Regions from separate parts of the Homo sapiens genome. Here region 2 is linked to region 1. The links are contacts of gene promoters, found by promoter capture Hi-C in human tissues and cell types (Jung and others, 2019). All regions are on one chromosome and are shown on one strand. Each heading gives the region's core, a stretch centred on a gene start or on the middle of the fragment in contact. The rest is flanking DNA. Distances are from core to core; before and after follow the strand shown.

Region 1 (6,338 bases), core at 1,874-4,373:
GATGGGGAGGGGCTCATTCACCCCTGAGTTGGACACCGTGTGGCTACGAATCCACCCTCAGACCACAGAGTGGATTTCGGCAGCAACACCACACCCTAGCCTCATCCTGAGCTCAAATTTAACTCAGATAGACCAGGCCCTTTTTCTATCGTTCTTAGCCACCATTAAACCAGGTCACTCGTTCTGTGTTTTTGCAATTGGCTTTTAAACAAAAGAGCTGGGTTTGGTGTATGTTTCCTTGTCAAATATTTTTTTCCAATAACACAGGTGGAAGAAAACAGACAGGGCCTCTTTCTGGTCCAGCCATGGGGTGGAGGCCGTTTTTGACTTTCACCTTCCTCTGTGGGTCCAGCTCTCTCTTGCTTGTTGGCTCTGAGGATTATTTAGTTTTTCAACAGCTCAGTGACTTAAAAAAAATATATATGCTTTAAACATAGCACTTTAAAGCTTTATTTATTTACTTACTTATGTATTTATTTATTTATTTATTTAGAGAAAGAGTCTAGCTCTGTCGCCCAGGCTGGAATGCAGTGGTGCGATCTAGGCTCGCTGCAACCTCCGCCTCCTGGGTTCAAGCAATTCTCTTTCGTCAGCCTCCCAAGTAGCTGGGATACAGGCGCCCACCACCATGCCTGGCTAATTTTTGTATTTTTAGTGGAGACGGGGTTTCACCATGTCCTTTTAGAAGTTTCAGGGTTGTGAATAGTGTCTAGTCAACCTTACTACCGAAACAGAAACTCAGAAGCAATTTCTGAAACTTCCGTGTTGTTGAGTTTTCACTTTCTTGTCGCAGTTCCGCCAGGCACTCACTGCCTACCATCCTGTGAGACGGTGGCTTCCCGAGCAGCCTCCAGCGCTCTGCTGTTACAGACGCCTGGGTCTGGGGGCTCCAGCCTTGCAGCCCACCTCCTCCTCCGCCAGCTCCTGCCTTCCCTCCCCATGAGTCGAACATGCTGGACTTTGGTCTAGGCCCTCCAGCCTCCGGAACTGGGAGAAATGGTGTCTGTTGTTCCGTCTTCCAGGCTTACTCTGTGGGTTTTGTTCTGGCAGCCCCAGCTGACAGAGGCAGCAGGGAAGGGACAGGTGGGCACCTGAATCAGAAGTCTGTGTAGGGAGGTGTCACAAGGAGGCAGGAAATAGATGTCTGTAGGAAGCCTTCCAGGAGATGCTGAGGGATTTGGCGACTTGTGGGGGAGAGAAGCCCAAGGGGCCTCCCAATTCTGTATCCTGGAAGATGGGAAAGACGGAGACGCCCCAAGCCAAGTGGATGCCACGGCTGAGTTGTGCCCCCTGGTTCATATGTTGGAGTCCTCAACGCAGTATCTCAGAATGGCACCTTATTTGAAGATAGGTCTTTACAGGGGTGATTAGTTCAAACATGGACCTAATGGAGTAGGGTGGGCCCTAGTCTAATCTGTGTCCTTATGCAAAGAGATGAGGACGCAGACACACACAGAGGGATGAGTACGTGAGGATATAGGGATGGCGGCATCAGTAAGCCACGGAGGGAGGCCTCAGGAGGACCCGGCCCTGAGGCACCTCGATGGCGGATTCCGGACTCCAGACTGTGAGACAATCCACTCCTGTTGCTTAAGCCACACGGTTTGTGGAGCAGCCCTAGCAAACTCACACAGCAGGGTACGGGGGGTTCCCAAATGCCTGGGAGTGCAACTCTGTGGAAAGTGTACATTTCTCTAATCACACAGAAGTTGAAACAAAAGAATCACAATGCAAACTCGTGGGAGGTGCAGATCGTATTTATTTAGAAGATCTAGCCTAGGCACTTACAAGGCGAAGCCCTGGGGAAAGAAACAGGGCCAGGTCGGAGGTAGAAGAGGAGACTGGGCGCCCCTCCTCCTCAGGAGAGGATCCTGGGGTCTCCAATAATTCCGAGTCCTCTAGGTCAACTCCAAAAGCAATCGGAGCGGTGGCAGCTCAGGCAGGATGAAGACGAAGCGGGGAGGAGCCAGGAGGTTGCGGGGACCGGGGAGAGGCGGCAGCAGGTCGGAGGATTCCAGTGTCAGCGTGTTTCCAGCAGGCTCACAGGAGGGGCCCAGGGATGTGGGATCTTGAAGCCCTGAGAAGGTTGAAGTGGTGGGGTCAGGAAAGGAAGACGGGATTCCGGGAGGGTTGATGGGCAGGACCCAGCATGCCAGAAGCCCTCATGACCTCAGAGGCTGAGCGGCTGAGTACTGAGCCCTGGACGCTAGGCTGCCTTAGTCCAGAGGAGGACAGATTCAGAGACGTGCTTCAGGAATTCAGGACACAGCTGCAATCATTCCTGGAGAGCCCGGATCTGTAGGACCCACTGAGGTTTGTGGGCAGAGCCTCAGATCTTGCACTGGCAGCAAATTGGGACACAGCAGCTGGACTGGGAGGAGCAGGGCTTGCAGCAGCTGGACTGGCAGCAGGATGACCCACAGCCTGAGGAGCAGCAGCAGGGCTTACAGCAGCTGGACTGGGAACAGCAGGGTTTGCAGCAGCTGGACTGGCAGCAGGATGACCCACAGCCTGAGGAGCAGCAGCAGGGCTTACAGCAGCTGGACTGGGAACAGCAGGGCTTACAGCAGCTGGACTGGGAGCAGCTGGGCTTGCAGCAGCTGGACTGGCAGCAGGATGACCCACAGCCTGAGGAGCAGCAGCAGGGCTTATAGCAGCTGCACTGGGAGCAGCCACAAGAACCGCAGCCCCCCTTGGAGCCCCCACGAAATCCACAGACCCCCTTGGAACCCCCACAGGAGCCACAGCTGGAGGAGCAGCAGACGGGCACACAGCAGCTGGAGCCACAGCCCCCCTTGGAGCCTCCACAGGAGCCACAGCCCCCCTTGCAGCCCCCACAAGAGCCACAGACCCCCTTGGAGCCCCCACAGGAGCCACAGCTGGAGCAGGAACAGGCTGGCACACAGCAGCACACGGGCTTGCAGCAGCAGACAGGTACACAGCAGCCGGAGCCACAGCCCCCATAGCCGGAGCCACAGCCCCCACAGCTGGAGCCACAGCCCCCACAGCTGGAGCCACAGCCTCCAGAGCAGCCAGAGCAGCCCATGGTTCTGGTGGGTTGAGGGTGGAGCAGGTAGAGGAGCAGGTGAGAGGGAGGTGTGCAGGTGTGGAGTTCTCTGAGCCCGGGCTCTTTATATTCCTGCCCAGGTGTTTATACTGAACACGTGAATACTTCTGTTGTTGTTTCTGCTATTTCACATGCACAAGTGTTATTTTTAATCTCTCCACAATCCCATGAGCCACCATCAGCTCAAGCCAAGCTGTCCTTTCCTTGGTTTCTAAATTTGGCCTCTTCCTCATAGGTGTTTCCCTTTGTTAGAAGACACTGGGCTCCCTCTCCAGTGGGTGTCCCAGGAGCCTGGGAGGCGGTGGTTGCTTGGCCGAAGGGTGGACCATTGTCCTTGGTGCTCAGGGCTCTCCTCAGCGATGCAGACCCTCCACCCCCTGGCATTGGTGTTTATATCAAGGATGGTCATTTGGTAAAAAATAAAATAAAATAAAAATTAAAAAAATAAGCTGAAAGAAAGGCTGTCTATAGGTTCCACCGCTTAAAAACTTCAAGTATAAATATTTTGTCAAATCTGTAAAACAAAGTTTTGAAGAGCATGGATTTGAGTGTGGCCCTGGTTCTCCTTTGTCTTTCTTACCTCTTCCTCCTGCGGTTTGGCTCACTCCTCCAGACACGGATTAGACCCACGTTCCCTTCAGGCAAGCTGGGCTCACAGAGGGAACAGAGGAACAGGACCCTTTCTAATGCTTTTGAGTTTTCCTCTATTAATTCTTTGTAAAAATTCTACAAATCAATGGATATTCTTCAAGTTTATTCTTCTTGAAGGCTACAAAAATTTTGATTAGCCAACCTCTCTAACACACTTTTATTTTCTAAAAGATTAATTTTAATATTTTTTTTTTGAGAAGGAGTATCGCTCTTGTCACCAGGGCTAAAGTGCAGTGACGCAATCTCGGCTCACTGCAATCTCTGCCTCCTGGGTTCAAGCAATTTTCCTGCCTCAGCCTCCCCAGTAGCTGGAATTACAGGCGCCCACCACCAGGCCTGGCTAATTTTTTTGTATTTTTAGTGAAGACAGAGTTTCACCATGTTGGGCAGGCTGGTTTCGAACTCCTGACCTCAGGTGAACCACCCGCCTCAGTCTCCCAAAGTGCTGGGATTACAGGTGTGAGCCACTGCACCCAGCCAAATTTTAATTTTTTATTAAGGTAAAATTTACATGCAGTGAAAAAAAATTTTTTTTCTGAGTCTCCCTCTGTCACCCAGGCTGGAGTGCAGTGATGCAATTTCAGCTCACTACAACCTCTGCCTCCCGAGTTCAAGCAATTCTCCTGCCTCAGCCTCCCAAGTAGCTGGGATTACAGGCACCCACCACCACACCCAGCTAATTTTGTATTTTTAGTAGAGACGGGGTTTCACTATGTTCGCCAGGCTGGTCTCGAACCCCTGACCTCAGGTGATCCACCTGCCTTGGCCTCCCAAAGTGTTGGGATTACAGGCATGAGCCACCAGGCTTGGGCTGCATTTTTTTTTTTTTTTTTTTGAGACGGGGTCGCATTCTGTCGCCCGGGCTGGAGGGCAGTGGTGTGATCCTAGCTCACTGCAGCCTTGGTCTCCTGGGCTCTGCACATATTTTGAGTGTACAATTCCATGAGTTCCGCTAAACATGTACTCGTGTGCCCATCACTCCAACCATGACCAACTGCTTCACCCCCAGAAGTTTCCCTTTCGCCGCCTTCCCTTCCTGCCCATCGCTCCAGGCACAGCTCTGCTGACCAGTTGTGCCTGTTGTTGAATGTTGCAAAAATGAAATCATTAAAAATGTACTCTGGTTTCTTTCCCTCACGATGTTATTCTGTGTGTCAATGATTTGCTCTTCTTCTTTTTTTTTTTTTTTTTTTTTTTTTGAGACAGGGTCTTGCTCTGTCACCCAGGCTGGAGTGCAGAGTGGTGCGCTCATGGCTCACTGCAGCCTCGACCTCCTGGGCTCAAGCGATCCACCTGCCCCAGCCTCCCAATGTGCTGGGATTACAGGCATGAGCCACCACGCCTGGCCTTCTTCTTCTTTTGTAATCACCGCATAGTGTTTCTGTAGCAGGGCGAGCCGCAGACAAGAACCCCTCAGACACTGAATTGTAGAAGGAAAGGGCTTTATTCAGCTGGGAGCATTGGCAGACTCAGGTCTCCAAAAACCAAGCTCCCCAAGTGAGCAATTCCTGTCCCTTTTAAGGGCTTACAACTCTAAGGGGGTCTGTGTGAGAGGGTCGTGATCGATTGAGCAAGCAGGGGGTACGTGACTGGGGGCTGCATGCACCGGCAATCAGAACGGAACAGGACAGGACAGGGATTTTCACAATGCTTTTCCATACAATGTCTGGAATCTATAGATAATATAACCGATTAGGTCAGGGGTCAATCTTTAACTACCAGGCCCAGGGTGTGGCACCGGGCTGTCTGCCTGTGGATTTAGTTTTTACTTCTTTTTTCTTTGGAGACAGAAATTGGGCATAAGAAAATATGAGGGGTGGGGCCCCCCTTATTCCATGTAAAAATATTCTCCACTGCGTTCCCCCGTTCTCACGTTCATACATATTTGAATCGTTCACAGTTTGGGGCGATGATGAATAACACATAATCATGCCTTCCAGTCCTTCCGTATTCATGTTTTTAGTTTTAATTTTTTGGTCAAATATTGAGGACTGGCCTTGCTAGACCATAGAGTAGTGTATGCTTAACTTGCTAAGAAACAGACAGCTTTCCAAATGCTCATGCTGCTTTCCCCCTCCCCAGCAATGCCTGAGAGTGTCCGCTGCCCCAGGCCTGTCAGTACCAGCCAGCGGCTTTTCAAATGTGAGGCATCGGATGGGTGTAAAATCGCATCTCGTGTGCATTTTGACCTGTGTTTCTCTGATGACTAATGTTCGCAAGGATTCTTTCTTGCACTTATTGGACATTTGCACATCTTTCTTGTTAAAAAGTTTTGCTAAAATTGTTTGCCCATTTTATTGTGATTTTTTTTTGTCTTTTTGTTATTGAGTTGTTGGAACTCTTCATAAATTCTATATCAAGAATGAATATGTGAAGTGCTTTGCCATATGTACGTATATATATTTACATATATATTTCATATACATGTGTATATGTGTGTATATAATATATATATGTAGAATATATATATTGTATATAATTTTCTAGTATTTGACTTGCCTTATTGTTATCTGAACTTTTTATATGGAAATGTTTTTGATTTTGAAGTCCACGTTAACATTTGTTTTGACAGCTAGTGCTTTCTTGTGACCTCTTTGAAAACCCTTTTTCCTAGCATTTC
Region 2 (6,338 bases), core at 1,007-3,506, 290 kb after region 1:
CCTCCCAAAGTGCTGGGATTACAGGCGTGAGCCACCACGCCCAGCAGAGGGATACATTTTAAATCTTTGCCTCATTTACTCCAAACCATGGAAAAAGAGGCCTCACAAACAGTGCCCATCTAGAAGAGTGAAGCTCCTGCCAGAGTTCTCTTTAAGCTGTGATGTAGAGGAGTGGAGCGATGTTGTTTGTGATTGATTGGGAAGCAACAAAGGCACCCTCAACATTTTTCACCCAGACCGGGCACAGGGGCTCACGCCTGTAATCCCAACACTTTGGGAGGCCGAGGTGGGCACTTGAGGTCAGGAGTTCGAGACCAGCCTGGTCAACATGGTGAAACCCTGTCTCTACTAAAAATACAAAAATTAGCTGGGCTTGGTGGTAGGTGCCTGTAATCCCAGCTACTTGGGAGGCTGAGGCAGGAGAATCGCTTGAACCTGGGAGGCAAAGGTTGCTGTGAGCTGAGATCACACCACTGCATTCCAGCTTGGGCAACAGAGTGAGACTTGGAGTGAGCTAATTTTTTTTTTCACCTACATTGGCCCTTCGTCTTCCAACTGTCAAGGCAAAAGGTTGTCCACATATAGGATTGGCTGCAAAATCCTCCACAAATAAAAGTATACCCCATGAGTGCACATAAGAGATCCCTTTTTAGTTCTATTATTCAGAGGCATGACAGTCTCAAGTTCTTGGGAAAAAGCTGTCCATATCTGGGATGCCAGCTGCTTCTGGGGAGAAACTTCCCTGATTAGCTTTACCTTAAAATCTCCAATGGGGCTGCAGTTGCTGGAGTCTGGCGATGCCCTCTTGAGCGGTGAGATAACGAACCCAGGGTTCAAAGTCCTAGAATTTCACTGCAGTGTGGGTGGCAAGGGCAGTCTTTCTGTGATACTCTCAGAAAACCAAATGTCTGGGTTCTAGATTGTGAAGCGTTTGATAGGGTCCTCAGTGGACCATGAAAAGCTTTCTGTACCTGGTGAAAATATACTTAGGCATAATGCATTAAGGCCTAGGAGCCTTTAGCCATATCGGAGTTGAGGAGTGGAAGATACATGAGGTTCTATATAGGACTTCCAGGGACTATTTCATAAGGCACCAACTTATGTTTTCCACTGGAAATGGACCCGACGGCCATCCACCTGCAACACCCTTGACCAAGGCAGCCCAGTTCATTCATTTCCCTTGCTTAATATTATTGTATCTGTAACAAGTTATTAACAGTTTTACCACTTGAGCAGTGAAACAAGTACATCTATCATGGGAGATTTCTCAAGGGACGTCCCATGAGAAAAACAATTTTCTAATAATCTTTTAGCTACTGCTATAACATCAGTGCTCTTGCCTGGGAAAGCTTCTATATAACCAGAAAACACGCATTGAAAATGACAATTGAAGGAAATCCCTCCAGCAATGTTTCAATGGCCCATCAAGTAGCAGAAGTGTAATGGAAGTTTCGATTGTCCTCCCAGGATTATGGGTTTGGCAGACCAAACATTGGTCGTAAACCATTTTAACAACTTACAACGGTCACCATGTCAAATATATATATGTATATTATATATACATATATATATAAAATTTGGATTAATTTGTCTCTTCCATGATGAATCATGGAGTGCAGAGCATTTAATAGTGGAAGCTTCAAGGACACAGGAAGGACCAGGTGGCCATCTTGGCTGTCCATGTGTCCATGCTTGATGCTGGACTTATATCTTCTTAAATACCAATTTTGTTTCTCCAGTTCAGGTGCATAGCACTGTTTATTAGAAGGGTTATCATAGGTAATTTGACTTGGACGATGGATTTAATTCAAATTGGGTATCTAAACAATATCAGTACTGGCTGATTTAGCATGAAAAGCTGGCAAAGTGTTTTCTTGGTATTCAATTAATTTTTGTCCTGCCCAGGTTAGCAATTTTATAAACCAGTCAATCTTTCCATTAGAGTTCCGGGAATTTTTACCCAGTCCAAATGACATTACACTAAAGTTATCAGAAGCCTATTCAAGAGGGCTTATCAGGGTCCTTTCTCTCCTTTCACGAACCTCCTGGAGGACTCAATATTGTAGGACTGTGTGTGTTTGTGAGTTTTCAGAAACGTCAGAAAAAAGCAATTAACTCTGGAAATGACGTAAAATGGTCATGGTTAAAGAAGAACTGACAAGGAATTTTGATTACTTCTGTGGCCTACAATAACTTAACTGTAATTAAGAGTGACAGCATATACCCGGATGTATCAGAATTTTAGGAACCCCATACAATTTTGGAGCATATATTAATGACGTATTCACAAACAATATCTCAAATAAGGTTAAACATCATTTCTTATTTGGCAGTGCTTCCCATGTAATTTAATTTATCAAATACTTCTGTCTCTCTCTTTTTTGGATACTATAGGGGCCCTTAGTAGCTCTCTCCACTGGGAAAGGCTGTTATCGTCTTTGTTTTAAACTATAAACTAAGTTTCTCCCAAAGTTAGTTCAGCCTACTCCCAGGAATAAGCAAGGACAGGAATAAGCAAGGAGGTTAGAAGCAAGATGGAAGGGCCAGGCACGGTGGCTTACGCCTGTAACCCCATCACTTTGGGAGGCCGAGGTGAGCAGATCACAAGGTCAGGAGTTCCAGACCAGCCTGGCCAATATGGTGAAACCTCATCTCTACTAAAAAAAATACAAAATTAGTCGGGCGTTGTGGCAGATGCCTGTAATCCCAGTTACTTGGGAGGCTGAGGCAGGAGAATCGCTTGAACCCAGGAGGCAGAGGTTGTGGTGAGCCAAGTTTACGCCATTGCACTCCAGCCTGGGCGACAAGAGCAAAACACCACCTCTAAAAAAAAAAAAAGGCAAGATGGAGTCAATTAAGTTAGATGTCTCTCACCGTCTCAGTCAAAGAGACAATGCAAAGGTGGTTTCAGCTTTTTCCTAAATATTATCAGATACATGTCATACAGAGAGACATATAGTCATAACAGACACAGATAGAAACAGATCTTACAGATTTCAGAAAGAATTTTCATTTGCCAGCTTTCAAATAGTTTTCTTTTCCCCCTTTAGACTATCAATCTTCTAATTACTTGTTTTATCATCCTAAGCAATCGTTAGCTAGGGAACAATTTGCCTTCAAAAAAGATAACTCTTAGGTGAAACAAGGCAGAAAATGTATATATGAAAAGCTATTTAAGCTGAGACTTTCAGCTTAAATACTGTACCATCATCATTTGCTCAACCAAGAAAAAAGCAAGGCCCAGTGAAGACAACATGGCCAGGAAAAACACGTTAAACAAAGGTAAGACTTGTTACGTAAATTTAAAACAAAGGGATGTCCCTCCCAGACGTTGCAAATGGAAATGTCTTGTGGAGATGTAAATTTCTTTCACAAAATGGTTTCAAGGTAGCCGTTGAATGTCAGAAAGGTGCATTTTAGTTATTAGGCTGGTTGAAAAGTAATTGCAAAAACCACAATTATGGCCGGGCGCGGTGGCTCACGCCTGTAATCCCAGCACTTTGGGAGGCCGAGGCGGGTGGATCATGAGGTCAGGAGATCGAGACCATCCTGGCTAACATGGTGAGATCCCGTCTCTACTAAAAATACAAAAAGTTAGCCGGGCGTGGTGGCGGGCGCCTGTAGTCCCAGCTACTCGGGAGGCTGAGGCAGGAGAATGGTCTGAACCCGGGAGGCGGAGCTTGCAGTGAGCAGAGATCGCGCCACTGCACTCCAGCCTGGGCGACAGAGTGAGACTCTATCTCAAAAAAAAAAAAAAAACACACAATTACTTTCACACCAACCTGTGGATAGGTGGTCCTTCTAATGTGGCTACTGCTTCTTAGCTGAAATTACTGAGTACAGGGTGGGACCCATTAAGGAATAAGGCAAAGAAAGGCTTCCCTCGGCCTGGGCTCAGCGTGGGTGGATCTGAAGTAAAGCCTGCTGGATCTGAGAGACCTTTTAGACACACTTCATCTAGGATAGCTTTCTGTATGGGATAGTAACCAGGCCAAAAGCTCAGCAGATTCATTTTTTCTTATCAATTGGTCACTTAAGCTTTTTCTTTGTCTTAATTAATTTATATTTATGATCTTATTTTGTCTTTATCTTATTTGACAGGGTGTTGCTCTGTCACCCAGGCTGGAGTGCAGTGGTGCCATCATAGCTCACTGCAATTGTTACAGGAGAGGGGTCCTGATCCAGACCCCAAGAGAGGGTTCTTGGATTTGGATCCTGTGCAAGAAAGAATTCAGGGTGAGTCCACGGCGCAAAGCAAAAACAAGTTTACTAAGAAAGTAAAGGAATAAAGAATGGCTACTCCATAGACCGAGCAGCCCCGAGAGCTGCTGGTTGCCCATTTTTTGGTTATTTCTTGATGAGATGCTAAACCAGGGGTGGATTACTCATGCCCCCCACCCCTGCTTTTTAGGCCATACAGGGTAACTTCCTGACGTTGCCACGGCATCTGTAAACTGTCATGGTGCTGGTGGGAGTGTAGCAGTGAGGACGACCAGAGGTCACTCTCGTCACCATCTTGGTTTTGGTGCATTTTAGCCGGCTTCTTTACTGCAACCTGTTTTATCAGCAAGGTTTTTATGACCTGTATCTTGTGCCGACCTCCTGTCTCATCCAGTGACTTAGAATGCCTGACCATGTGGGAATGCAGCCCAGTAGGACTCAGTCTCATTTTACCCAGCCCCTGTTCAAGATGGAGTCGCTCTGGTTCACACGCCTCAGACACAGCCTCTGCCTCCCGCCTCAGCCTCCTAAGCAGCTGGGACTACAGGTGAGTGCTACCGTGCCTGGCTAATTTTTTTTTTTCCGTAGAGATAGTGGGGAGCTGTGGAGCGGGGGGTGGGGGGCGGGTGTCTCACTGTATCGCCCAGGCTGGTCTCAAACTCCAGGGCTTAAGCAATCTTCCCACCTTGGCCTCTCAAAGTGCTGGAATTACAGGCATGGGCCACCTTGCCAGGCCTCATTTGCCTTTTGTGCAGACACTTTTAAAAGAGGGAGTAAAAATACTGAAATCATTTTAGAAGCTTCTTCACATCAATTGGCATCCCTGATGAGGCTAATTAGGAGCCCTTGTTTTTAGGTGCACTTCTTAAAGTGCAGTGGTGTTCACTTGGAACATCCCACCGTAATTTTCATTCACCTTTAGTAAGATGCCACCATTTCTGTAAACATCTGCCGCGTCCGGGACCTAACACGTACGGACATACGAGCCAGAAGGTGCTCGGTTTTTCAGAGATGAAGGATCCCATTTTACATTAAATCTTGGCTTTGGCTCTTAGATCCTCGTGATCAACTGAGCAATGATTTTTCCCTGCCTTAGTGTGCAAGAAAAAGAAACCAAGAGAGTAGAACACGAACATCCTTGTGAATGTCCAAAAGCTGGAGTGTGCACCTCCTGCAGCCCTGCCATTTACAGCCAGTTTCCGCCTGACCCAGTCAAGACACACAAGGCCTCTAACTGCATCCAAGCCAGTGAATGATCAAATCAGATTCCATCCTGGACCCAGTCCAGTTTCTGTCACGACTTCTGAACCCAGCTTAGATAAAAAAATTTGCTCAAGCAAACTCAGATGGCTCAAAACACACATCCATGGAGCTTTGGAATCCAAGAGAGAACTTCCCACGATCCCCAGCTGCTCTGAGAGAGCAGAGGGCACAGTGGGCCCTGTGGGTCCTCCATTGGTCAGTCAGAGCTCCTGGGGGCCGCTGGAAGCTCTACGCCAGATCCACTTCTGATGCCATCCGTTTAAAGAGAAAACTTGGCCGGGCGCAGTGGCTCACGCCTGTAATCCCAGCACTTTGGGAGGCCGAGGCGGGTGGATTGCCTGAGCTCAGGAGTTCAAAACCAGCCTGGGCAACACGGTGAAACCCCGTCTCTACTAAAATACAAAAAATTAGCCAGGCATGGTGGTGCATGCCTGTAATCCCAGCTACTCCAGAGACTGAAGCAGGAGAATTGCTTGAACCTGGTAGGCGGAGGTTGCAGTGAGCAGAGGTGGCACCACTGCACTCCAGCCTGGGCGACAGAGCAAGACTCTATCTCAAAAAAGAAAAAAAAAAGAAGAAATTTAAGGCCAGGTGCAATGGCTTACATCTGTACACCTGTAATTTCAGCACTTTGGGAGGCTGAGGCAGGTGGATCACTTGAGGCCAGGAATTCGAGACCAGCGTGCCACCACACCCAGCTAATTTTTGCATTTTTAGTACAGATGGGGGTCTCACTATGTTGGGCAGGCTAGTCTCGAACTCCTGACCTCAGGTGATCCACCCACCTCAGCCTCCCAAAGTGCTGGGATTACAGGCGAGAGCCACTGCGCCCAGCCTCTTTATTCTTTTAATCT

The links. Contacts are between HindIII fragments. The study calls those that stand out against the background at their distance.
Region 2: a fragment that was not itself captured here is called in contact with the fragment with the promoter of KRTAP5-3 in region 1 in 2 of the 25 tissues and cell types used here (heart left ventricle and liver).

Annotation. Positions count from the first base shown.
Region 1 is chr11:1,605,340-1,611,677 of GRCh38, forward strand. It overlaps KRTAP5-3 (keratin associated protein 5-3), which reads right to left and starts at 3,124. Exons shown (of 1, transcript NM_001012708.2): 1 at 2,226-3,124. The coding sequence starts at 3,046. The coding sequence ends at 2,330. The HindIII fragment of the contact is 8,426 bases long and covers 1-6,338 here.
Region 2 is chr11:1,898,489-1,904,826 of GRCh38, forward strand. It overlaps LINC01150 (long intergenic non-protein coding RNA 1150), which reads left to right. Exons shown (of 4, transcript NR_120534.1): 2 at 4,102-4,236; 3 at 4,616-4,768. It also overlaps a transcript of PRR33 not described here. Among named protein-coding and RNA genes, the nearest start is that of LINC01150, 4.9 kb to the left of the region's middle. The HindIII fragment of the contact is 4,546 bases long and covers 1-4,529 here.